Linked DNA regions of Homo sapiens: regions 2, 3 and 4 are each linked to region 1. The links are contacts of gene promoters, found by promoter capture Hi-C in human tissues and cell types (Jung and others, 2019). All regions are on one chromosome and are shown on one strand. Each heading gives the region's core, a stretch centred on a gene start or on the middle of the fragment in contact. The rest is flanking DNA. Distances are from core to core; before and after follow the strand shown.

Region 1 (5,920 bases), core at 1,724-4,223:
GTTCCAAATACAGGCATGCTGTATTTTGTAGTATTCTGTATTCAGAAAACAGCAACAAGACAATAAAAGTTTGTCACCTCCATTTTGAAAAGGATTTTTTTTTTTTTTAACCAAAGGGACTAAAGTCATAGGGAAGAAAAGCATACACTGGTTTTCTGGACATTCCCCTGGGATTATACACACACACCATGCAACAATCACAGGCACCAGCTCCCAGCAGGCACATGATCGCCTCTCTTCACACTCCTGAGCGCTAACCCCACAGATATTTGCAAACAGGGTGTGTCCTGTCAAAAAAGCTCACAGGAAAGCAATTATCTTCCTCCTGACCCAGGAGCCCAGGGGAGGAAAGCGAGGCTGGCAGGCTAGTGAATATTTAAATTCTAAGCCAGCCTAGTGCTCCTGCCACAGCACACAGTGCTGTGGTCAATGCAAGACAAGCAGCGTATTACAAAGGAAGCCAGGTCCCTGGACTGCATGTGCTATTTTCTGTCCCGAAGGAGACATGGAAGTAACAACCTCAGCTCTCCAGGTCCTTTTCCACCACGGGACCTGGCTGGCGGCTCACCTGATTATTTCTGGGAACGATCTAATTAAATATTAACCACGTACAAAACCTCATTCTTACATTCCTCAATAAGTCACTGTGAAGACGAGCAAACCCAGACAATGAACTCAAACTCCAACTTTCCAGAAAATGGGGCCCTAGAATAGGTAAGACCTGTGACATTCACCCATTACAAAGTTATTCATTGTTAGTGGCCCTCTTAGCCTCTGAGAAAAAACCAGAGCAAAACAAAACAAAACAATCCACCTTCGGAGAGGTGCCTGTAATCCCAACATCTCGGGAGGCCGAGGTGAGGCGGGTGGATCGCCTGAGGTCAGGAGTTCGAGACCAGCCTGTCCAACATGGTGAAACACCTTCTCTACTGCAAACACAAAAATTAGCCAGGTGTGGTGGCGCACGCTTGTAGTCCCAGCCACTTGGGAGGCTGAGGCAGGAGAATCACTTGAACCCGGGAGGCGGAGGTTGCAGCGAGCTGAGATCATGCCATTGCACTCCAGCCTGGGCAACGAGAGAGACTCTGTCTTTAAAAAAAAAAAAAAAAAATCCACCTTCTTGTGTATCAAACCAACCACTAAAATGTGTGGTCCTGTATCAGAGATTCTCTCTTTGACACTCAGGAAGGTTGCCCTTGACTTCTTATCATTTAAGAGTAAGATCAATGAAGTTGGTCCTTCACATCCCATCTCCTCCATGTAGCAATCAGACCTCTTTATACGTCCTCAAAGGCACGAGAAAAAACTCAGTGAATAAACAAAGTTTCTGACAACATCCAGATATGTCTGCCAATTCAGGTTTTCTCCCTATGATCTACAAGTTCTTGGCACAATTAATTATGTATTGGTGACTTTAAATTTTTTTAAAATGACGGGCTATCCGGGCTGAACCAGTTGATGGTGATGAAGATCACAAGGCTAAATTGGTAATTTGCAGCCACCTGGGTTCCAGCACTTCGCATTTCTAAAGCCTTGATATCCTCAGGATTTATTATCGCTTTCTGGGTCAATCCCAAGCACAAAGGTTAGAAGGTCTCCCTGCGTTCTCTCTCATTTCAAAACGAAAGCTGTTGTAGAGTGCGTGTGCTAACTAGATGTGAAGGCAACCGCAGAAGTCATAGCTCTCTGCAAGGACAAGTGGGACGGAACTTGCAAATAGCCGCCACAAACGCAAATGTCACCAACCTGCTTTAGACAGGAGTGGGAGGGGTCCTCTGGCTTCCTTTATCTCTAGAGTAAAATTTTTCAGCCATTTCAGTCTTGGTTGACTTATTTTGGCAAATAAACAAGTATGCCCCCCTCCACCGCCCATCCCCCAAGCCTGAGAGCACTTCAAGAGTTTGTAAAATAAAAAGCAACAGGAAACCAGAAACGCAGCAACGTCTGCATCGTGGGTCCCCGGCACAAACACAAGTACAAAACGCACACCCGCGCCCTTATTTCATTTCTAACGCCTTCCCAGGATAGGCATCATCTGGAAGAGTTACAAGCGTGGGAGGCGCAGGAAGGGAGCCCCAGGAAGTTTCTGTCTGTCGGGCGCCGGTATTTAATGAGGGGGTGTGCACCTATTTATACGTGGGCAGCGCTCGGGCAAACAAGTCTGGCGACATACGAGAAGCTTTTCACCCAGCAAATAATAGGAGACTGTGCAGCCCTGGGAAACCGCTCACGAGAGAAGGAAGCTGGGAGTTTAAGGAATTTCCTTTAAGGAAATTGCCCGTGGGGGCATCGGTTTCAGGGGGTAGGAGACGGGGGCAGGAGCCGGCAAGGAGCGGCACGGAAGGTCGGGGACCCCAGTCGGGCCGCGCCGGCCCCGGGAGCACCTGGATCCCCAGCCCCCTCGACCCCCGGCGCGCTGGGCTCGCGCACACCCAACCCCGGCCCCATCTCCGTCCCCCGCCGCCTCAGCTCCGGCGCTCCCGGCCCGCGCACACCCTGACCCCGGCCCCCTCAGCCCCGGCGCCTCTGGGCCCGAGCGCCCGGCGGGAGCGGGGAGCGCGGCTTCCGGTTCACCTGCGCGCCGGTCGGCTCGGGCCGCGGAGGCCGGCGGGGGGCGGCAGCGGAGCTCTCGGAGAGCCCGGGCGGACACAGGCCCTGCCCCCGCGCCGTCCCCCGCCCCTGGCCGGCGCCTCCCGGGCCCCAGCCGTTCGCGCGTGAGGGGTCAGGGACGCCGCTTGCCCGCCCGCCCGCCGCCGCCCGCCGCCCGCCGCCCGCCGCCCGCTCGCCTGGGTCTTGTCGAACTGCTCGCGCTCGGCCTCCAGGCTGTGGCCCGGCCTGCGGCTCAGCACCCGCGCCGGCACGTTCTTGATGCTGTTCATCCTGCCGCCGCCGCCCGCTTTTGTCCGGCTCCGTCCGCGCGACTCACAGCCTCACGGTCCGGCAGCCCCAGCCTAGGCACCGCGAGGCCACCGCGCCGCGCCCGGGCCCGCCCGCCGGGGAGGAGCCCGCCTCGCCCCGCCCCCAACTCCAGGGCACGCCCCTCCCCCGCACACCTCCAAACCCGCCCCCCGCGCCCGCAAACGCCTCGCCCGCCCCCAACTCCAGGGCGCGCCCCTCCACCCGCACACCTCCAACCCCACCCCCCGCGATCTCGGGACACGCGCCTCTCCCCGCACATCCCCAACCCCCCATCCCGCGGCGACCCCGGCACACGCCCCGCCCCCCGCACACCTCCAACCCCCACCTCACTCACAAGGTTGGGGCACAGGCCAAACGCCCCCCCAGCTCCTCCCCACCTCTAATCCCCTCCCTAAACCCGGAGGGGAGGGTAGGGGAAGGGGGAGGGGGAACCCCTCCCTCCTCCTTCCACCCAGGGTAGGGACCCCAGCCAATTCCCTCTCCCCACCCCTCCTCCGAACTCACTAAGTCTTGTCTGCACCAGGGCAAGATCTGGTTAATTGGAGAAAATCTGGCCTCCATGAGTCTGGTCGGTGGCAGCACAGATAGACGCTTTTTTTCCTTTTTGGTCTTAATGTATGTGTCAAAAGGCACACAATGACACTCTCCCCTCTTTGTGCAATTCTGACATAGCTGCAGCTGTTATCCATGCGGGGATGCAGGATGCATTTCCAGAGACGCCGCCGGCTCCGCAACCGGACACCTCGCCAGCTCCAGGGACAATGGGGGCTGAGGCCGGGCGCTGTTAGGCTGGCACAGAAGGCAGGCGGATCTGAACAGCAAAGTACACCGAGGAGATGCCGCCAGGGGTGGCGTGAGGCTTTTTAAAAACATTATTATTGGCTTTCCCTTAAAATTACTGGTCACAAGACTGAAGTAAAAAAATAAATAAAAGCCCAGAGTCCTCTCTAAGCGTAGCTCTCAGATGGGTATTGTGTTTCTGCTGTTTCCCTTTCCTATCGGAATGCAGATGTGGAATCATGCATAAAGGTCCCTTGCTTTTGAAGGGAGAGGCACCGCCTGCCTGTAAGGAGGAAAATGACGCCCACGTAATCCTGACCCTTGTCTCCCTAGTGAGACTGTAACCTGTCTGAGGTCAGAGACCCTTTCCTTTCCTTTCCTTTCCTTTCCTTTCCCTTTCCCTTTCCTTTCCTTCCTCCTTCTTTTCTTTCTTTTCTCTCTTTCTCTCTCTTCTTTCTTTCTCTTTCTTTCTTTCTTTTCTTTTCTTCTCTTTCTTTCTTTTCTTTTTTTTTAACCGAGCTTCACTCTTGTTGCCTAGGCTGGAGTGCAATGGCACAATCTCACCTCACCGCAACCTCCGCCTCCTGGGTTCAAGCAATTCTCCTGCCTCAGCCTCCCAAATAGCTGGAATTACAGGCATGTGCCACCACGCCTGGCTAATTTTGTATTTTTAGTAGAGACAGAGTTTCTCCGTGTTGGTCAGGCTGGTCTCGAACTCCCGACCTCAGGTGATCCGCCCGCCTCGGCCTCCCAAAGTGTTGGGATTACAGGCGTGAGCCACCACACCCCGCCAGGGACCCTTTTCTTTAACTGATTCCTCACCCTCCAGCCCAAGAGCTAGAGCTGACCCCAAAAGATAACATTTGCCAAGACTCTCCTGTCACTGCACCAAAAGGAGAAATTAATCCTGTTTTCTCTAATTCCAATCACTAAAAAGCTTCTTTATCAGAATAACGGTAGAATCACAATAGCTGATATGTACTGAATGCTTATTATTTGGCAGGCACTGGGCTAAACCCTTCATATGTAACTTAGTCAACTTAGTTGATAGCTGTGCTCTAATAAAGACCACAGTAAAGGGGCTTTTTGCGGTACTCCAGCTGTTTCTCACACTCCTTTTTCCACACGGAACAAAAGTGGTTCTCCTGTGACCCTTCACGCATATACAGCATCCCTTTTCAACCAGGCAACAGCCCCTGTAGGTCTAGCACATCTGCCACAGAGACTTCCCATTAGCAACTGGCTTTTTAAATAATCACAGAGCCTATTACTGTGCCGGGCACCAGGCTCAGCATCTGTTAAACAGTATCTCACTTATTCTTCTTTAAAGTTGTTGATGAGGCTCGGCACAGTGGCTCACGCCTGTATTCCGAGCACTTTGGGAGGCTGAGGCAGGTGGATCACTTGAGCTCAGGAGTTCGAAACCATTCTGGGCAACATGGTGAAACCCCATCTCTACCAAAAAATACGAAAAACTTAGCTGGCCGTGATGGCGTGCCTGTAGTCCCAGCTACCCAGGAGGCTGAGGTGGGAGGATCACTTAGGCCTGCAAGGCAGAGGTTGCAGTAAGCTGAGATCATGCCACTGCACTCCAGCCTAGACAACAGAGTGAAACCTTCTCTCAAAATAAATAAATAAAAAATAAAGCATCAACAACTTTATTTTTATTTATTTATTTTTTTTGAGACAGGGTCTGGCTTCGTTACCCAGGCCGGAATGCAGTGGCATAATCATAGCTCACTGCAATTTCTGCCTCCTGGGCTCAAGTGATCCTCCCACCTCAGCCTTCTAAGTAGCTGGAACTGGAGGGATGCACTATCATGCCCAGCTAATTTTTTTTTTTTTTTGAGATGGAGTCTCACTCTGCCACCAGGCTGGAGTGCAGTGGCACGATCTTGGCTCACTGCAACCTCTGCCTCCCGGGTTCAAGCAATTCTCCTGCCTCAGCCTCCCAAGTAGCTGGGACTACAGGCGCCCGCCACCACGCCCAGCTAATTTTTGTATTTTTAGTAGAGACAGAGTTTCACCATGTTGGCCAGGATGGTCTCGATCTCTTGACCTCGTGATCTACCCACCTCGGCTTCCCAAAGTCCTGGGATTACAGGCATGAGCCACTGCGCCTGGCCATGCCCAGCTAATTTTTAAAGTTTTTTTGTAGAGACAGAGTCTTGCTAAGTTGTCCAGGCTGGTCTCAAATTCCCGGGCTCAAGTGAATTCGCCC
Region 2 (5,920 bases), core at 1,553-4,052, 800 kb before region 1:
TGCTCATTTAATAGCAAAGAGCAGTAATGCCTTTCCTCCCTCCGTACTTTGCTTCCTGCAGTCCTGTCTTCTACATTAGGAGAATCTCTACCCCATCTTTGATTTCTGTGTATTCAAATCCCAATTACTCCTCAAAGCCCCAAACCAGCGCAAACTCTTTCTTCTTCATGACTCCCCTATCTCAGAGCAGAAGGAATGCCAGCCTCCTCTGCACTAAGCACCGGAATCTGCAATCCCAAAATCCCATTCCACCCTGACAACCACCCAGCAAAGGACATTTTCCTGCCATTTTTCATCAATTATAAGATGACCCCCACCCCTTGTTTTTTACATTGAATAGTTGTTGACATCTGGATGGTATCTTTATCATTAAGATTAGCAGCATTTTTTCTTTCTTAATGGTATATTAAATAAGGGCACATCTCATAATCAATATTATCTTAGATTAGCTGAAATATGATATATGGTATTCGTATTCTGCAAATGAAAGTAACTTGTCCTAAGTCACATATGGCCTGCTAACAAGTGGCAAGGCCAAAGCCCTGTTCTAAAGACAGATCTGCTTGACTATAAAGACTGTGGCTCTTCACTGCCCCACTGCCCACCTCTGACAACCCACAGCTCTCTCTTCTAATGACACTTAGCACTTACTATTTTATTTTACAGTTAGTTGTGCTTCTGATCTCTCGTCCCAGTCCTGCCCACTTAAGACTGTGGACTTCTTAAAAAATGATGGAATTTGCTAATCCTAGGATAAAATAATGTGTGTAAATCAGAACTGGTGTAGTGGCTCACGCCTGTAATCCCAACACTTTGGGAGGTCGAGGCAGGAAGATTGCTTCAGCCCAGGAGTTTGAGACCAGCCTGGGCAAAACAGTGAGACCTTATCTCTACCTTTTTTTTTTTTTTTTTTTTGCGACGGAGACTTGCTCTGTCGCCCAAGCTGGAGTGCAGTGGCACGATCTTGGCTCACTGCAACCTCTGCCTCCTGGGTTCAAGCAATTTTCCTGCCTCAGCCTCCTGAGTAGCTGGGATTATAGGTGTGCGCCACCTTGTCCGGTTAATTTTTTTGTATTTTGAGCAGAGACGGGGTTTCACCATGTTGGCCAGGCTGGTCTCGAACTCCCGACCTCAAGTGATCCACCCACCTTGGCCTTCCAAAATGCTGGGATTACAGGCGTGAGCCACTGTGCCCAGCCACTTTTTTTCTTTTTTAATAGAAAAACAAAACAAAAAAATGTGTAAATCACACAACAAAGCACCTAGGACAGAAGCACTTAATACAACTGTGTCTGCCAGACAGAAAAAGCGTTGCCTGTAAAGAAAGGTGTGCATCTATACACATGCAATGACCCTGTGAATTTCCTTCTTTAGTTCGCTACCTCATTTGTAGACAGGAGCAATGCCAGGCCTGCCTCCCTCACAGGGTTGTGGTATGGTTTCACATCAATTAAGAGAGGATGGACAATTATTACAGTTCCTGAAAGGACTCCCCTATCTCTATTCTTGCTCCCCACAGTCCATTTTCCACACAACAGCCACAGTGATCTTTTAAAATTGCAAACCAGATCATAACACTTTCTGGCTTAAAACTCTACAATGTCTTTGTATTGCACCTAAAAATAAAGGCCAACTTCTCTATCACGGCCAATAAGGCCCTGCATGACCTGAAACTGGCTGGTTCTCTGATCTCATCCCTCTAGCCTCCTTTTAAATCTTCAAGACATCTGACTCTGTATGTGGTAGTTTAATGTATGAATGAGTCTCCCCACCATCCTCTACCCGCAAGCTCTCCATTTCTCCCTTCTCAGTGTAACTTGGTGGCTCAATCTGCCACAGGGCCCATGCACTTAAAGTGCACTTCCCCCAGAACTTCACATAATCATTCAAGTCGGTTTCAATATCCTGCACTTTTCCTAGGCCCCTATCTAAAACAGCTCCTCCTCAATCCTAGTCACAATGTACTATTGTAACTAGGACCGTACTGTTACATCATCTTCATAGCTCTTTTCATCCTTTGAAAAATAATTTATTTTTTAATTTTTTATTGACGAGGTCATGCCCTGTCGGCCATGCTGGGTGCAGTACTGCCATAATAGCTCACTGAAGCCTCGAATTCCTGGGCTCAAGTGATTCTCCCGCCTCAGCCTCCCGCGTAGCTGGGACCACAGACACGCGCTACCACGCCCGGCTAATATTTCATTTTTTTTGTAGAGATGGGGTCTGGCTGTGTTGCCCAGGCAGGTCTCGAACTCCCGGCTTCAAGCGATTCTCCCTCCTCGGCCTCCCAAAGTGCTGGGATTACAGGCCTAATCCACCGGGGTGCGACCCGGCCGAAATTATTTTTATTTATTGTCATCTGTTTCACCCAGTAGACTGTAACCTCCACTAAGGCCCCTGTCTGTCACGATCTCTGCTAAAATCCAGAAAATAATGCCTGTACACAGGAGGCGATCCAAAACTATTTACTGAATGAATGACTGAATGCCTTGGCTACTCCTCTAAAGACCAAACGGATTCTATCCAGCCCAAAAGACACATTCCATCTGGCCAGTCGTAGCCGGACCGAGACAGCCGAGCCCCGGAGTCGAAGTCCCGCCCTGCAGGGTCCTCACCGTCTGAAACCATGGCTGTCCCAGCACCTCAGCGCAGAGCAAGTGGTGGTCAGGGGAGCGTCTCAAATCCTGCGCAGCCCAACGTCCGGCGCCGCCAAGTGACGCACGAGGTGCTGTGACTCGTGCCAGCCCCCTAATCTGCGGAAGTGGAGTGCGGGGAGTGCGCCGGAAGAGGGGTACGGAAGTGCGCCGGAAGTGGGGTGCGGAGGTGTGCAGCGCGCTGTCAGACTGGCTCGCAGGCGGCGCGGCCGGCGGACCCGTTCGAGACAGCGCGGGCGGCTCGGGTCCCCTGGGGCTCCGCAGCAGGAGGACGCCATGGACGACAAGGGTAAATCAAGACAGGCCAGGGCTGCTAGGCTACAGCAGCGCCGTTCAGGGGTCCCCCCAACCTCTCACATCCAGGCTGAGCTCCCGAAGAGATTTCTTTTGAATTTCAGGCTGCTCCGCTGGTTGTGTTTCCAGAGTCACAACTAAATCCCTCGCGCTGCTCTTGTTTTCAGGGATGCGCCCTGGCAGTATCTGCAGGCATCCCTCCCACACATACGCTCCTTCCCAGTGCCAGTCTCCTTCCTGCCTTGTTGGATCTGTCATTAAAATTAGAATGAATAAGGCATATTTGATGTGCTCATCTAGTATGGTTATTAAGTGAAAAACAAGGGCAAACTAATACACTTTTCATGTAAAGAAATAAAGGGGAGTGGGTGGAACTCCATGTATAATATTTGTAACATATATGTGTATGTGAATAGACATGTATTAGCATAGACTGTCTGGAGGGGTGCAGGAGAAATTGGCAAGATGGTTGACTCTGGGATCCTCTCAGATTTTAGGACCAAAGAGGCTGAAGAGAGAATGACTTTTCATCATCATTTACTCGGGCTTAATTTTTAGGCCTTGCACACCAGTAGCTTTTTTTTTTTTTTTTTTGAGACGGAGTCTCGCTCTGTCACCCAGGCTGGAGTGCAGTGGCGCAGTCTCGGCTCACTGCAAGCTCCGCCTCCCGGGTTCACGCCATTCTCCTGCCTCAGCCTCCCAAGTAGCTGGGACTACAGGCGCCCGCCACTACGCCCGGCTAATTTTTTGTATTTTTAGTAGAGACGGGGTTTCACCGTTTTAGCCGGGATGGTCTCGATCTCCTGACCTCGTGATCCGCCCGCCTCGGACTCCCAAAGTGCTGGGATTACAGGCGTGAGCCACCGCGCCCGGCCACCAGTAGCTTTTTCAAAATAAAAAAGAGCTCTTGCAAACAGCAAAGTGGTATTTTCTCTATTCCCATCAACATTTATTGCATCCCTGAAACCAAATACCCTAAAAAGAAAGTATTTTTTAAATTGTTTGCTTCTTAAAGTCAACAGTCATTAACAAGCTCTCTTGCCTTATAGGCTGCTAAATGAATTAGGTGAATCACTTTTTTCCCTTTTTCCAGAGTTAATTGAATACTTTAAGTCTCAGATGAAAGAAGATCCTGACATGGCCTCAGCAGTGGCTGCCATCCGGACGTTGCTGGAGTTCTTGAAGAGAGATAAAGGTATATAGAGAGTCATCTGTTAACACTCTGGGACTTAGGATAGTCTTTTTTTTCTTTTCTTTTTTTTTTTTTTTAAAGAGACGGAGCCTCACTCTGTCACCCAGGCTGGAGTGCAGTGGCGAGATCTTGGCTCACTGCAACCTCCGCCTCCTGGGTTCAAGCAATTCTCCTGCCTTGGCCTCCTGAGTAGCTGGGATTATAGGTGTGCACCACCTTGTCCGGCTAATTTTTTTGTATTTTAGAGACAGGGTTTCACCATGTTACCCAGGCTGGTCTCGAACTCCTGAGCTTAGGCAATCTGCCCGCTTTGGCCTCCCAAAGTGCTAGGATTACAGGTGTGAGCCACTGTGCCCGGCCGTTTGTTTTTTTTGAGACAGAGTTTTGCTCTTGTCTCCCAGGCTGGAGTGCAATGGCACAATCTCGGCTCACTGCAACCTCTGCCTCTCAAGTTCAAGCGATTCTCCTGCCTCAGCCTTCTGAGTAGCTGGGATTACAGGCATGCACCACCACGCCTGGCAAAATTTTTTTTTTTTTTTTTGAGACGGAGTCTCGCTCTGTCACCCGGGCTGGAGTGCAGTGGTGCCATCTTGGCTCACTGCAGGCTCCGCTTCCCAGGTTCATGCCATTCTCCTGCCTCAGCCTCCAGGTAGCTGGGACTACAGGCGCCCGCCACCATGCCTAGCTAATTTTTTGTATTTTTAGTAGAGACGGGGTTTCACTTTGTTAGCCAGAATGGTCTCGATCTCCTGACCTCGTGATCCGCCCATGTCGGCCTCCCAAAGTGCTGGGATTGCAGGCGTGAGCCACCGGGCCCGGCCAAATTTTTTTATTTTTAGTAGAGACAGGGTTTCACCATGTTGGCCACAGTGGTCTTAAACTCCTAGCCTCAGGTGATCCGTCCGCCTCGCCCTCCCAAAGTGCTGAGATTACAGGCGTGAGCCACCATGTTCGGCCAGGAAAGTCTTCTAATGACTCTTAGAAATGTAGAAAGTGAGAGATGCATGTTTGCCTGCATAAAGTAGTAATACAGCTCCAAGCTCAGCTTCTGCCTTCATTTCAGACCTTTCAATCTGGAGAGAGCTCTTACGTTGTCATGAAAAGGATCCCTTTCATAAGTGAAACAGACTTTGAATCGAGAGTGACTATGTTATATTGTGTTAACCATGATGCGTAAATTTCAGTAGCAGTTCAGCTTTATAAGTGTTTATTAGGCCTCCACCTTGTGCCAGATTCTGTACAGATGCTACAGGGAATATTCCAGAATAAATTCTGGTATTAGTATTATTTATTGTGATCCCCTAATTCAGCACCCTAAATGTAAGCATCTGGGTATAGCATGAAATCTTGTATAAGCAAAATAATAATGCAGCCTTTAATCTGAAGGGCTTGCCTAGAGACACATGTCTTTAAGGCAACCTCCAGTGTCTTCCCATTGTTCTTAAAATAACATCCAAACAACCTTAGCCTCACCCATACCACCTTGCAGACCTCATCTGCCGCTGCTACTTAATGTCTTTCCATGCCTCAGCCTCCCAAAGTGCTGAGATTACAGGCGTGAGCCACCATGCCCAGCCACCCAGCTTTATTTCTATGTGTGCTTGTTTACTATCCGCTTCCTCTATTACAATCAAAACTCCATCACAGCAGAACCCTACCTGTCTTGTTCACTGATGTATCCCTAGCATCTAGAATAGTGCCTGGTATATAGTATGTACCTAGTAAATATTCACTGAATGAATGAATGAATTGAAGATACAGGTCGGGGCTGTGGCCCTAA
Region 3 (5,920 bases), core at 875-3,374, 700 kb before region 1:
TTACAGGCATAAGTCACTGCAACCAGACTTTTTTTTAAATAGAGACGGGGTTTTGCCATGCTGCCCAGGCTGGTCTCGAAATCTTGGGCTCAAGTGATCCTCCAGCCCTGGCCTCCCAAAGTGCTAGGATTACAAGCATGAGCCACTGTGGCCAGGAGTATTTATTTTTATTTTTTATTTTTCTGAGACAGAGTTTCGCTCTGTCGCCCAGTTTGGAGCATAGTGGTGTGATCTCAACTCACTGCAACCTCTGCCTCCCAGGCTCAAGGGATCTTCCCACCTCAGCCTCCCAAATACCTGGGACTACAGGCTCTCACCACCACGTCTGGCTAATTTTTTTATTTTACTTTTTTTTTTTTCTTTTTTTTTTTTGAGACGGAGTTTCGCTCTTGTTGCCCAAGCTGGAGTGCAGTGGCACGATCTTGGCTCACTGCAACCTCTGCCTCCCAGGCTCAAATGATTCTCGCGCCTCAGCCTCTTGAGTAGCTGGGATTACAGGCACATGCCACCATGTCTGGCTAATTTTTGTATTTTTAGTAGAGGCGTGGTTTCACCATGTTGGCCAGGCTGGTCTCGAACTCCTGAGCTCTAGAAATTTTCCCACCTCGGCCTCCCAAAGTGCTGGGATTACAGGCGTGAGCCACCCCGCCTGGCCTTAATTTTTTTTTTTTTACTATTTATTTATTTATTTATTGTATTATATTATTATTTTGAGATGGAGTCTTGCTCTGTCACCCAGCCTGCAGTGCAGTGGCGCGATTTCGGCTTGCTGCAACCTCCGCCTCCCGGGTTTAAGCAACTCTCTGCCTCAGCCTCCTGAGTAGCTGGGATTACAGGCATGCGCCACCATGCCCGGCTAATTTTTGTATTTTTAGTAGAGACGGGGTTTCACCACCTTGGCTAGGCTGGTCTTGAACTCCTGACCTCGTCCACCTCAGTCTCCCAAAGTGCTGGGATTACAGGCGTGAGCCACCGCGCCCGGCCAACTTTTAGATTTTTAATCAATACGTGCCACGTTGGGGTGCGCTTTATGGCTACAAGGGCATTAAGATTTCTTCCCTCAAGGAGCCAAGATCTGACGGTGGAAACCTACCTGCAACCACACGGTGAAAACTCAGGATGCTAAGAGCAATCCTGATGGGGCAAGCAGGGGACTGTGAGTTTGCAAGGGGGTCCTTAACTCCTGCGTGGGGGGCGGGGAGGGTGGATGGGGTTCTGGGTTCAGGAAACGTTCTCCCGGGAGTGGGAGGGGGTCTGATGGACAAGTGGATTTGGCCAGCCCAAATGGACAGGGGGCCTTGGGACAAGAGAACTCGTGGTGCTGGAATGCCAAGCGGGCTTCGCTCTACTGTGAAGTGGCGTTCATGTCACAAGGAGCCAGTGATGGATGTGGCTCGGGGAGGCGCGCCCTGGGGCTCCGGGGATCCAGCATTCCTCGACACGTCGGCCCCTCTCCGGGCGCCTCTGCAAGTCCGCCTGGTGGCCGGGTCTGCGCGGAGTGTCTGCGGGCCGGGGGGGGTCCCCGTTCTCTTCCTGGGATGAGCCCCAGCCCGGGGACCTCCTCGTGACCCCTCCATCCCTCTCCAAGGCCGGGGCCGCTACCCGGAGCAGCGAATCGTCCCGCGAGACCAGCGCCCCCGGCCCCCTCTCCCGGGGCGGCCTGGACCCCTCCCGGCGGCCGGGTGGTGGGAGGAGTCAGCGCCGGGCGGGGGAGGGGCGGCCGGGGCACGGGTGAGGGGCGCCGCGGGTCCGGCGGCTGGAGAGGGGGGCCCGGAGTGCAGGCCGCGGAGTCGGCGCTTGGGGGGGTACCCCGGGGCGCCCCCGGGCGGCGGAAAGCGGGCGCGCCCCTGGCCAGGCCGGGATTGGGGCGGGGCGCGCGGCCTCCCTGTGGGGAAGCGATCACCCGGCCTCGCAGCCGCCGCCGCCAAAGTTTCCCGGAGGAGCCGCGGGCCGCCCTTCCTCTCCGGCCCCGCGCTCTGCCGCCCCTCAGGCCCGCACCGCCCCGAGGCGCCCGGCCCGGCTCCATTGAGCGCAACTCGGATCCCAACTTGGGAGGCGCCGCGGGCCTGCGCACGCGCGCGCCCTCCCCGCTGCCGCCGCCGCCGCCGCCGCCGCCGCCGCCCACTCGGGAGCAGCTCCGGGCCGAGCCGGGCGCCCAGACCCCGGGCCCGCACACCCCGCGCCGCCGCCCGTGCCCGCGCCCGCGCCCGCCGCCCGCTGCCCGCTGCGCCCTCGCCCCAGCGCCCGCTGAGCGCGCCCGCCCGCGGCCCAGGCTGGGCCCGGCCGGCCCGGCCCTCGACAGCGGCAAGTTTGGGAGTTGCACGAGTTTGCGGGGCGGGGGACAGGCCAGGAGGGTGGCCATGGAGGAGGAGCGGGGGTCGGCGCTGGCGGCCGAGTCGGCGCTGGAGAAGAACGTGGCCGAGCTGACCGTCATGGACGTGTACGACATCGCGTCGCTTGTGGGCCACGAGTTCGAGCGGGTCATTGACCAGCACGGCTGCGAGGCCATCGCGCGCCTCATGCCCAAGGTCGTGCGCGTCCTGGAGATCCTGGAGGTGCTGGTCAGCCGCCACCACGTCGCGCCCGAGCTGGACGAGCTGCGCCTGGAGCTGGACCGCCTGCGCCTGGAGAGGATGGACCGCATCGAGAAGGAGCGCAAGCACCAGAAGGTGGGCGGCGGCCTCGGTCTGTCCGTCCGGGCAGTGGGACCGCGGGGACCCAAGGGCTCTTCCGCATTGGGCAGCTGTGGGTGCGCACGTGTGTGTGTTCAGGGACCGGACCAGAGGAGACCCGACGTGGGGAGGGAGGGAGGCCCTGGCCTTCTTTTGCCCGACCAGGGGTGGCTGGCAGATACCACCCGAGAGATTAAGAGCTGTTCTCTGGAGTTCCAATCCCACCTTTACCGTTTAATAGCTGTGTGACTTTAGGTAAGTTACTTAACCTCTCTGTGCTTTATTTCCTCACCTGTCAAATGGTAATCATAATAGGACCCACCTTAGAAGAATTAAATGGGACCATATAAGCTAAGTGCTTAGACATATTATTCTCTTCCAGACATGAAATAAGCCTCTTGGCCTCCCGAGTTACCAAGAAGATGTGACATCAGGCCCAGGACCCTTTCTTCATCCCCCCCCCCCCCAGTCTCCCCAGAGCAAAGGGAATGTGACCTCCAGCCACTGAGCTTCGTGACCCCTAGTCTTCGGGTTCATATTTGCAACTTTCTTCCCGGGACTCCCCTAGCTTATGAACCTGTGGTAGCCCGTGTTCTCTCCTCTGATTTTATCCTTAATCCTCACAGGACTCTATAGAGACTATCTTCATTTTACAGATAAAGAAACCGAGGGTCACAGTGGGAGGAGCAATTTGTCCCAAATTAGTGGTGAGAGAGTCCCAGCCCCCGTGTCTCCTCCCCACCCTGTTTGAATTGGGGGAAAGGGATGATTTGGGGTGGCTTTAAGGCTAAGCCTCTGCCCTGTGATCAGGAGTCTCTCTGAATCAGGGCCTCCCCACTGGGCCTGGAGTTCAGACGAGGTTTCTGGAGAAAAGGAAGTGAAAGACATGTGGTTTCCTGCCCTAACCTCAGCCAGGGATGCTCTTGGCAGCCCCTTCAGACTGAGAATGGGAGGAAACACCTTTCCTTGAGGGATCAGGGTGCCTGAGCAGTCTCCAGCTTGCTGTTCAGCCTCAGGAAATACAGATGGCCTCTCTGAACCTCAGGGGCAGGCCATCCCTTATTGTGTACTTTGATGGATCTCTGTGTTTTGGAGTAAAATAGCCAAAGCTGGGTCTGAACCCTTTACCTGAGGGCAGACCCACAGGTAGGTAACAGCACCATTGCCATGTTTGACTGTGCTCGTCCTCATGGGTCCCTATGCCCTAGGGGCAGGAAGGAAACTCAGGCTCCCAAGAGTTGAGCAGCATTTCCGAGGTCACTCTGGGAGCCTGAAAATGCTTTGACCTGTAATTAATTTCAAGACTCCTAGAAGCTAGGACTTTGGAGCTAGACAGCCTGGTTTCAAACCCTACCACTTGCAGGCTGTGTGATCTTGGGCAAATCACCCAGCATCTCTGTGCTTCAGTTTCCTCAGTTCTAAAATGGGATAGTAATAGTACCCCCATTAGAATGTGATGAGGTTTAAAGAGTTAATATAAATACATATAAAGTGTTCAGGACAGAGCCTGCCCATAGCAAGGGCTTTGCAAGTCTTAAAATTCTTTTTAGGCCTGGAGAGACATTCATTGAGGTGCTCACAGGCTCATATTAGGAAACCGTCCCCACCCCAAGCACCTCTACTCCTACCCTAGAGGCCTCCATCTCTCATAGAGGGTCAAGGAGGCAAGGGACCTTGGAAATTCTCTCGTGTGGCGCCTCTTATTAACAGGGACCAAGGGGCTTTGACCAGATCACACAGAAGTCCTGGCACCTATACTGTCCCCCAACTGGGGCTCTTTAGTTCTGTTGCGGGGGAGCTGGGAGAAATCCTTGGAAGCCATCGGAGGCCACCAGGTCTGAAGTCACATGGAATTGTCAGCAGCTGCACTTGTTGCCTCTGGAAAGTGTTCAGCTGGGAAGTGAACACCGTGCGCTCAGGGCCAGGGCTTGTTGACTTACATTGAGGATGACCTCTCTAAATCAAGGATGCAATTCTTTTCCCACCCCAGCCCCAGACCCGTTTACTTCACATTCTTGGGATGGAGAGAGACTTGTATGATTTTTTTTTTTTTTTCCTGCAGAGTCTCAAAGGCTCTTCAAGGTGATATTTCCACAAAAATGTTTTTGGCATGTCCTGGTTTAGTCTGTCCACCTCCATTCCTCTTCCCTTTCCCCTCTTCTTCCCTACCCCTTCTTCCTTGTCTCTCTCGCTTTCAGCAATTATGGCTCCAGTAAAGGACATACACTTTCTTCCCCCTACTCCTCCTCTCAGTAGACCCACTCACTCACTTCCACTCATCACTCAGATGCAGGCCACAGTTGTGTCATGTTCTGTCTCATTACTCAGTCTGCAACTCTGATGACAGGCCATAGCGAGCACAGTGCCCTTCTTGGTACCATGGCTCTGCAGAGAAAAGCAAAGTCTCATGTCAGGCAGCAGGCGGGTAACAGGGAAGAAAGGGAAAACACAAATAAATTCTAGAAAGCAATGGCTGGGCTGATACACTCGCGTGTAACATACCAGACTATGCTATTCATTCACTCATTCAGCGAATATATTTACTGAGAACCTACTGTGTGCCATGCATTGTTCTGGGCACTGGGAAGACAGTAATGACCATGACAGATGAGGCCTTGGCCCTGATGAGCCTGACTTTTTAGTGTAGTGCTATACCATAGAAATATTATGCAGCTTTGCCATGTTAATAAAAAACAGTGAAGTTGGCTGGGCGCGGTGGCTCACACCTGTAATCCCAGCACTTTTGGGGGGCCAAGGCGGGTGGATCACTTGAGGTCAGGAATTCAAGACCAGCTTGGCCAATATGGCAAAACCCCATTTCTACTAAAAATACAAAAATTAGCCGGGCATGGTGGCGAGTGCCTATAATCCCAGCTATTCAGGAAGCTGAGGCAGGAGAATCGCTTGAACCCGGGAGGCAGAGATTGCAGCGAGTCGAAATCACACCATTGCACTCCAGCCTGGGTGACAGAGTGAGACTCTGTCTCAAAAACAACAACAACAACAAACCAGTGAGGTTAATTTTAATATATCTTATGGGACCCAGTAGATCCAAAATATTTTCATTTCAACATGTAATCAGTATAAAAACTTATCATTTGATATTCTGCACTCTTTTTTTCCTACTACATCTTTGAAATCTGGTGTGTCTTTAACCCCTGCTGCACATTTCCACTCAGACCAGCCACATGTCAAATGCTCAACAGCCACGTGTGGCTACTGACTTTCCATGGGATGGTGCAATTATT
Region 4 (5,920 bases), core at 1,978-4,477, 560 kb before region 1:
GGGTCAAGAAGGTTAAAAAAAAAAGAAAGATATACACCTGTTATCCCAGCACTTTGGGAGGCCGAGGCGGGCGGATCACGAAGTCAGGAGATCGAGACCATCCTGGCTAACATGGTGAAACCCCATCTCTACTAAAAATACAAAAAATTAGCCGGGCATGGTGGTGGGCACCTGTAGTCCCAGCTACTCGGGAGGCTGAGGCAGGAGAATGGTGTGAGCCCGGGAGGCGGAGCTTGCAGTGAGCCAAGATCGCGCCACTGCACTCCAGCCTTGGCAACAGAGCAAGACTCCATCTCAAAAAAAAAAAAAAAAAAAAAAGAAAGATATATATTGGTGGAATAGATTTAAAAAAAACAACAACAAAACTTGGTCAGGTACAGTGGCTCATGCCTGTAATCCCAGCAGTTTGGGAGGCCAAGGCAGGTGGATCACCTGAGGTCAGGAGTTCGAGACCAGCCTGGCCAACATGACGAAACCCTGTCTCTACTAAAAATACAAAAATCAGCCGGGCATAGTGGTGCACACTTGTAATCCAAGCTACTTGGGAGTCTCAGGCCAGGAGGCGGAGGTTAGTAAGCCATAATCATGCCACTGTACTCCAGCCTGGGCAACAGAGTGAGACCTTGTCTCAAAACAAAAAACAAAAAACAAAAAAAAAACTTCAACCAACAGTAATATACCAATGTTGGTTGTTACTTAGCTGTGACAAATTCACCAGAGTAACTTAAGTGAGAGAAGATGGGTAAGGAGTCTGGGGAACTCTCTGTATTATCTTTGCAACTTTTCTATAAAATTAAAATTATTGGCCAGGCGCGGTGGCTCACATCTGTAATCCTAGCACTTTGGGAGGCCAAGGTGGGCGGATCACAAGGTCAGGAGTTTGAGGCCAGCCTGACCAACATGGTGAAACTCTGTCTCTACTAAAAACACAAAAATTAGCTGGGCGTGGTGGCAAGCGCCTATAATCCCAGCTACTTGGGAGGTTGAGGCAGGAGAATTGCTTGAACCTGGGAGGTGGAGGTTGCAGTGAGCCGAGATCGCACACCTGCACTCCAGCGCGGGCTACAGAGTGAGACTCTGTCTCAAAAAAAAAAAAATTGCAAAATAAAAACATTTTAAAAACTTTTTGGCTGGGCACGGTGGCTCACGCCTGTAATCCCAGCACTTTGGGAGGCCGAGGCGGGCGGATCACAAGGTCAGGAGATCGAGACCATCCTGGCTAACACGGTGAAACCCCGTCTCTACTAAAAACACCAAAAATTAGCCGGGCGTGGTGGCAGGCGCCTGTAGTCCCAGCTACTTGGGAGGCCTTTTTAATTATTTTTTAAGATGGGGTCTCACGGCCGGGCTCAGTGGCTCACGCCTGTAATCCCAGCACTTTGGGAGGCCGAGGCAAGTGGATCATGAGGTCAGGCATTTTGAGACCAGCCTGGCCAACGCAGTGAAACCCTGTCTCTACTAAAAATACAAAATCAGCTGGGCATGGTGGTGGGCGCCTGTAATCCCAGGTACTCAGGAGACTGAGGCAGGAGAATCACTTGAACCCGGGAGGTGGAGGCTGCAGTGAGCCAAGATCGCGCCATTGCACTCCAGCCTAGGTGACAGTGTGAGACTCTGTCTCGAAAAAAACAAAACAACAAAAAACCCACAAAAGATGGGGTCTCACAATGTTGCCCAGGTTGGTACTGAACTTCTGTTCTCAAGTAATCCTCCCACCTCAGCCTCCCAAGTAGCTGGTGTCTTTTTTGTTGTTAATTACTCCCCATTGGAAAACAAGCCCTACGGGCTGGTCTAGTTTACTGTGGAATCTCCTGGTCTAGAACAGTGCACACAGCAGGCCCTCAAAGCAACACCACCACCATCACACACATAACCACCTTGCTGTGTGACCCATTCATTGCAAGTGTGCAGAGAGTGCTGAGAAGTACGGGGGCCCATGTAAACGGGAGTGATCATGGAAAGACCGGGGTAGTGGAATGGGGGTTTTTCTGCTGGGACCAAACACGGCAGGTAGGAGATGCGCAGAGGGAAGCTGGGACCAGGCCAGATGCCCCGGCACAAAGCCAGGGAGGCTGAGTCTCCCAAAGGCCTGGAATTTGGGGCCTGCAAACAACCAGCCCTGGGTTTTCTAAAGGGACTTCTGGCAGGAACCCACAAATGGGCCTAGAAGGAGATGGAGTGGGAGGGATACAAGGTTGGAACTAGGGCAGTTGAGAAGCGCCTGTGACCAGGAAGGAGGGGACCTTCCCAAGCGGAATCAGCAGGCTGCTTGCACATCTGGCCCTGGGGCCGAGCTGGGCATGAGGAAGCCCAGCCATTGCCAAGAGGCATGGTCCCTGCCCCGCTGCTGGCTGCCACCCCACCCACAGCCAGGCTGGCCGGCCAAGGGGCCCCTGCAGTGAAGCACTTGGTGGATAGGGCATCTCTCCAAGGCCCACCTTGTGTCCAAATCCAGCAGCCCTGATCCCACCCTGTTGCCCAGGACCCACGCCCTGGCGCTAGGCCCGCCCTGGCTGCTGTCTTCAGCCTCAGTGGAGGTATATAAGAGGCTCTGAATTGCAGTTTCACCCCAGACCATCTGGCCAACAACAGGCTGTATTATGCCCCACCCTCCTGGATCCACAGCCTGGGCCCAGCATGGCAGTCAAGTCAGGACTGACCCCACCCTTCAGATGAGCCCCAGCTGTCCCGTTCTTGGGCTTTATCTGTGCAGTCAGAAAATATTCCACCCTGACCAGCTCTAGCCACGTCATCCCGGCCAGCTATGGCCTCCCTGCCCTGGCCAGCAACAGCTTGCATGGCTGCACTCAGCAGAGCCAACACAAACAGTGGGGGGCAAAGCACGGCTCCCGGTCCAGGAACAGGGCGAGCTTTCTTGTGTTTGCAGACTGTGCTTTAGGGAAGCAAGTGTGTTCTTCCCTTCTGCTCATCTGCTGCAAGATTTAGCAGACCTGCATCCTGTCCCATCGCAGCCTTCACTCTGCCCAGCACAAACTCTTGCTTCTTATTAACAAGGCCAACTCGGCTCCCCCCACCCTAAAGTCCACAGCAGCCCTTGGTGGACGCTCAGCAGAGGCCCTGTGTGTGGGCACACCGCAGCTCCAACCCTGGCTGGGAGGTGTCTGGGATTCTGTGGTCTGGCACCACCTCACCATCTGCAGTGCTGTCTTTTTTTTTTTTTGAGACGGAGTCTTGCTCAGCCACCCAAGATGGAGTGCGGTGGCGCGATCTCGGCTCACTGCAACTACCGTCTCCTGGGTTCAAGTGATTCTCCCATCTCAGCCTCCCAAGTAGCTGGGATTACAGGCACCTGCCATCATGCCTGGCTAATTTTTGTATTTTAGTAGAGACAAGGTTTCACCATGTTGGCCAGGCTGGTCTCGAACTCCTGACCTCAGATGATCCGCTCACCTGGGCCTCCCAAAGTGCTAGGATTACAGGTGTGAGCCACTGCACCTGGCCCAGTGCTGTCTTTAAGAGTGACCTAGCAGGCCGAGCACGGTGGCTCACGTCTGTAATCCCAGCACTTTGGGAGGCTGAGGTGGGCGGATCACCCGAGGTCGAGAGTTCGAGACCAGCCTGACCAACATGGACAAATCCAATCTCCACTAAAAAAAAAAAATACAAAATTAGCTGGGCGTGGTGGCGAATGCCTGTAGTCCCAGCTACTCAGGAGGCTGAGACAGGAGAATCACTTGAACCCAAGAGATGGAGGTTGCGGTGAGTCGAGATCACGCCATTGCACTCCAGCCTGGGCAACAAGAGCAAAACTCCATCTCAAAAAAAAAAAAAAAAAAAAGTGACCTAGCACAGCCTCCCACTGCTGACAAATGTTTTAAACAGCTCATTCTTGGCTGAAAGACATTGCCTTTTTCAGGCAATAAAACCAAAGCTGCTCTCTGTGGGGAAGAAAATGGACCTTTTTAAAAATTTTTTTTAAATGAAGCTTCATCAATTAAAAGAAAAAGAGAAAGAATACTAGACCACTGTGTATCTGCGCATTTAACATCAAGAACGCTGAAGGAGTCCGCATGAGGGCTGAAATGCTGAAACTGCCAAAGCCGGGGTCCCCACCTCTCTGTGTAGGATGCAATCCTGAGCACCTCTCCCAACCCGGTGGTCACTGTGGGGGTGAGGGAGAGCAGAGGGGCAGCCCCAGGTGTCCCTGAGGGGGAAGAGCAGAGGGACCTGCCATGCCCTGCGTTTCCTTCACAGAAAGGCAATAACCACACCTCACTGCAGCAAATATTGACTGCCTGCCGCATAGCTCAACCCTCTGCAAACATGGCAGCGGAGGCCCGCATAGGCCAGCTGGCCTTCCAGCCGGTGCTGCTCACTGGTCTGCAGGCTCCTAGTATGGCAGCAGCGTGGGAAAGAGCAGACGGGAGTGACAACACTGAGGAAGCAGAGGTGGCGATAGTAACAGTTAGCTGGCACTTACTGAGTGCCAAGCATGGTTCTAAGGGTTCCTCTTGCATGACCACATTTATTGAATGCTCACCACAGCTCTAGCAGGTACTACATTATTGTACCATTTTACAGACTGGAGAGCCAAGGCATGGACAGGGTAAGTGACTGGCCCAAGGCTACGCAACCAGCAAGTGGCCCCAAGCCACTGCTGTTTAACACCCTGGGCCACAACATGGAAACTTCCAGAAAACAGACAAGAAAAGCCTCTGAAAGAACAGGCAGCCTTTCCCACAGTCCCAGGCTCCCAATGGCTCTGCCAACAAGTCCTGGAAAATCCACCTTCAGAGTCACACCTGGCTTTCCCTGCCACATGCTACAAGTCACAAGGTTCCTTCACACAAGTGTCTTAACCAAGCCCTGCAGTGACCCCAGCAGAAAGGCAGGACAAGCTTTGTGAGGATCCCCGATAGATCCAGGAGAAAACCAAGTCCAGAGGGGCCAAGAGACTTGCTCCAAGATGACGAAAACAAGGCTGAGGACACACACATACGCACACGCCAAGCACTGCTTGGTGGGCCACCCTGCCCCTCCACAAACTGGAATTTAAAGCACGTGACTACCTGCAGCTCGGCTTTGCTCTTCCTGGAGCTCCTTCGGACAGGGTAGAAATCCGTAAGTTTGCGATTCTGTTGCGTTTTTCCTTGAGCTCTGGGTAAGAGGGGAAGAGGAGAAAATAAATATCAGGACTGAAAACCTGGAGGCACACAGCTCCTTAGAAGGCACACACCGAGGAGGCACACAGCTCCTTGGAGATGATGTCACTTAAACACCTTTGTCCACTGGAGCCTGCAGGTCACTCAGTCACCTGCCCATGAGGGCCTCAGAGGAGTTTCAAAGACGGGCTGCTGGCTGGGCGCAGTGCCTCATGCCTGTAATGCCAACACTCTGGGAGGCTGAGGCGGGAGGATCACTTGAGCCCAGGAGTTCAAGACCAACTCAGGCAACACAGCAAAACCCCGTCTCTAAAAAAAGGAAAGAAATTAGCCAGGCATGGTGGTGCACACCTATGGTCCCAACTACTCGGGAGGCTGAAGTAGGAGGATCACTTGGTCCTGAGAGGTTGAGGCTGCAGTGAGCTACTGCACTCCAGCCTGGATGACAGAATAAGACCCTGTCTCAAAAAACACAACAGTCGGGCATGGTGGTTCACGCCTGTAATCCCAGGACTTTGGGAGGCTGAGGCAGGCAGATCACGAGGTCAGGAGTTTGAGACCAGCCTGACCAACATGGTGAAACCCTGTCTCTAATAAAAATACAAAAATAAGCGGGACATGGTGGCATGCACCTGTAATCCCAGTTACTCAGGAGGCTGAGGCAGGGGAATCGCTTGAACCCAGGAGGTGGTGTTTGCAGTGAGCCGAGATCGCACTATTGCACTCCAGCCTGGGCAACAAGAGACTCTGTCTCAAAAAAAAAAAAAAAAAAACACAAAACACCAATCACCAAAAAA

The links. The method cuts DNA at HindIII sites, captures the fragments that hold promoters and counts their contacts. A contact is called where the count stands out against the background at its distance.
Region 2: a contact is called between the fragment with the promoter of EIF2B1 here and the fragment with the promoter of HIP1R in region 1, in 1 of the 25 tissues and cell types used here (spleen).
Region 3: the fragment with the promoter of RILPL1 here is called in contact with the fragment with the promoter of HIP1R in region 1 in 1 of the 25 tissues and cell types used here (spleen).
Region 4: a fragment that was not itself captured here is called in contact with the fragment with the promoter of HIP1R in region 1 in 1 of the 25 tissues and cell types used here (bladder).

The regions. Positions count from the first base shown.
Region 1 is chr12:122,832,510-122,838,429 of GRCh38, reverse strand. HIP1R (huntingtin interacting protein 1 related) reads right to left here and starts at 2,973. Exons shown (of 32, transcript NM_003959.3): 1 at 2,787-2,973. The coding sequence starts at 2,879. It overlaps LOC124903040 (a long non-coding RNA gene), which reads left to right and starts at 3,197. Exons shown (of 2, transcript XR_007063501.1): 1 at 3,197-3,256; 2 at 3,592-3,875. RefSeq lists silencers at 2,462-2,661, 2,832-3,071 and an enhancer at 3,322-3,371. The HindIII fragment of the contact is 9,768 bases long and covers 1-5,920 here.
Region 2 is chr12:123,630,568-123,636,487 of GRCh38, reverse strand. EIF2B1 (eukaryotic translation initiation factor 2B subunit alpha) reads left to right here and starts at 2,802. Exons shown (of 9, transcript NM_001414.4): 1 at 2,802-2,943; 2 at 4,042-4,143. The coding sequence starts at 2,931. It overlaps GTF2H3 (general transcription factor IIH subunit 3), which reads right to left and starts at 2,659. Exons shown (of 13, transcript NM_001516.5): 1 at 2,616-2,659. The coding sequence starts at 2,628. RefSeq lists an enhancer at 2,586-2,775. The HindIII fragment of the contact is 12,225 bases long and covers 1-5,920 here.
Region 3 is chr12:123,529,923-123,535,842 of GRCh38, reverse strand. It overlaps RILPL1 (Rab interacting lysosomal protein like 1), which reads left to right and starts at 2,124. Exons shown (of 7, transcript NM_178314.5): 1 at 2,124-2,669. The coding sequence starts at 2,361. RefSeq lists silencers at 1,196-1,381, 1,401-2,090 and an enhancer at 2,306-3,123. The HindIII fragment of the contact is 25,082 bases long and covers 1-5,920 here.
Region 4 is chr12:123,395,543-123,401,462 of GRCh38, reverse strand. KMT5A (lysine methyltransferase 5A) reads right to left here. Exons shown (of 8, transcript NM_020382.7): 5 at 5,031-5,118. Among named protein-coding and RNA genes, the nearest start is that of KMT5A, 14 kb to the right of the region's middle. The HindIII fragment of the contact is 4,904 bases long and covers 776-5,679 here.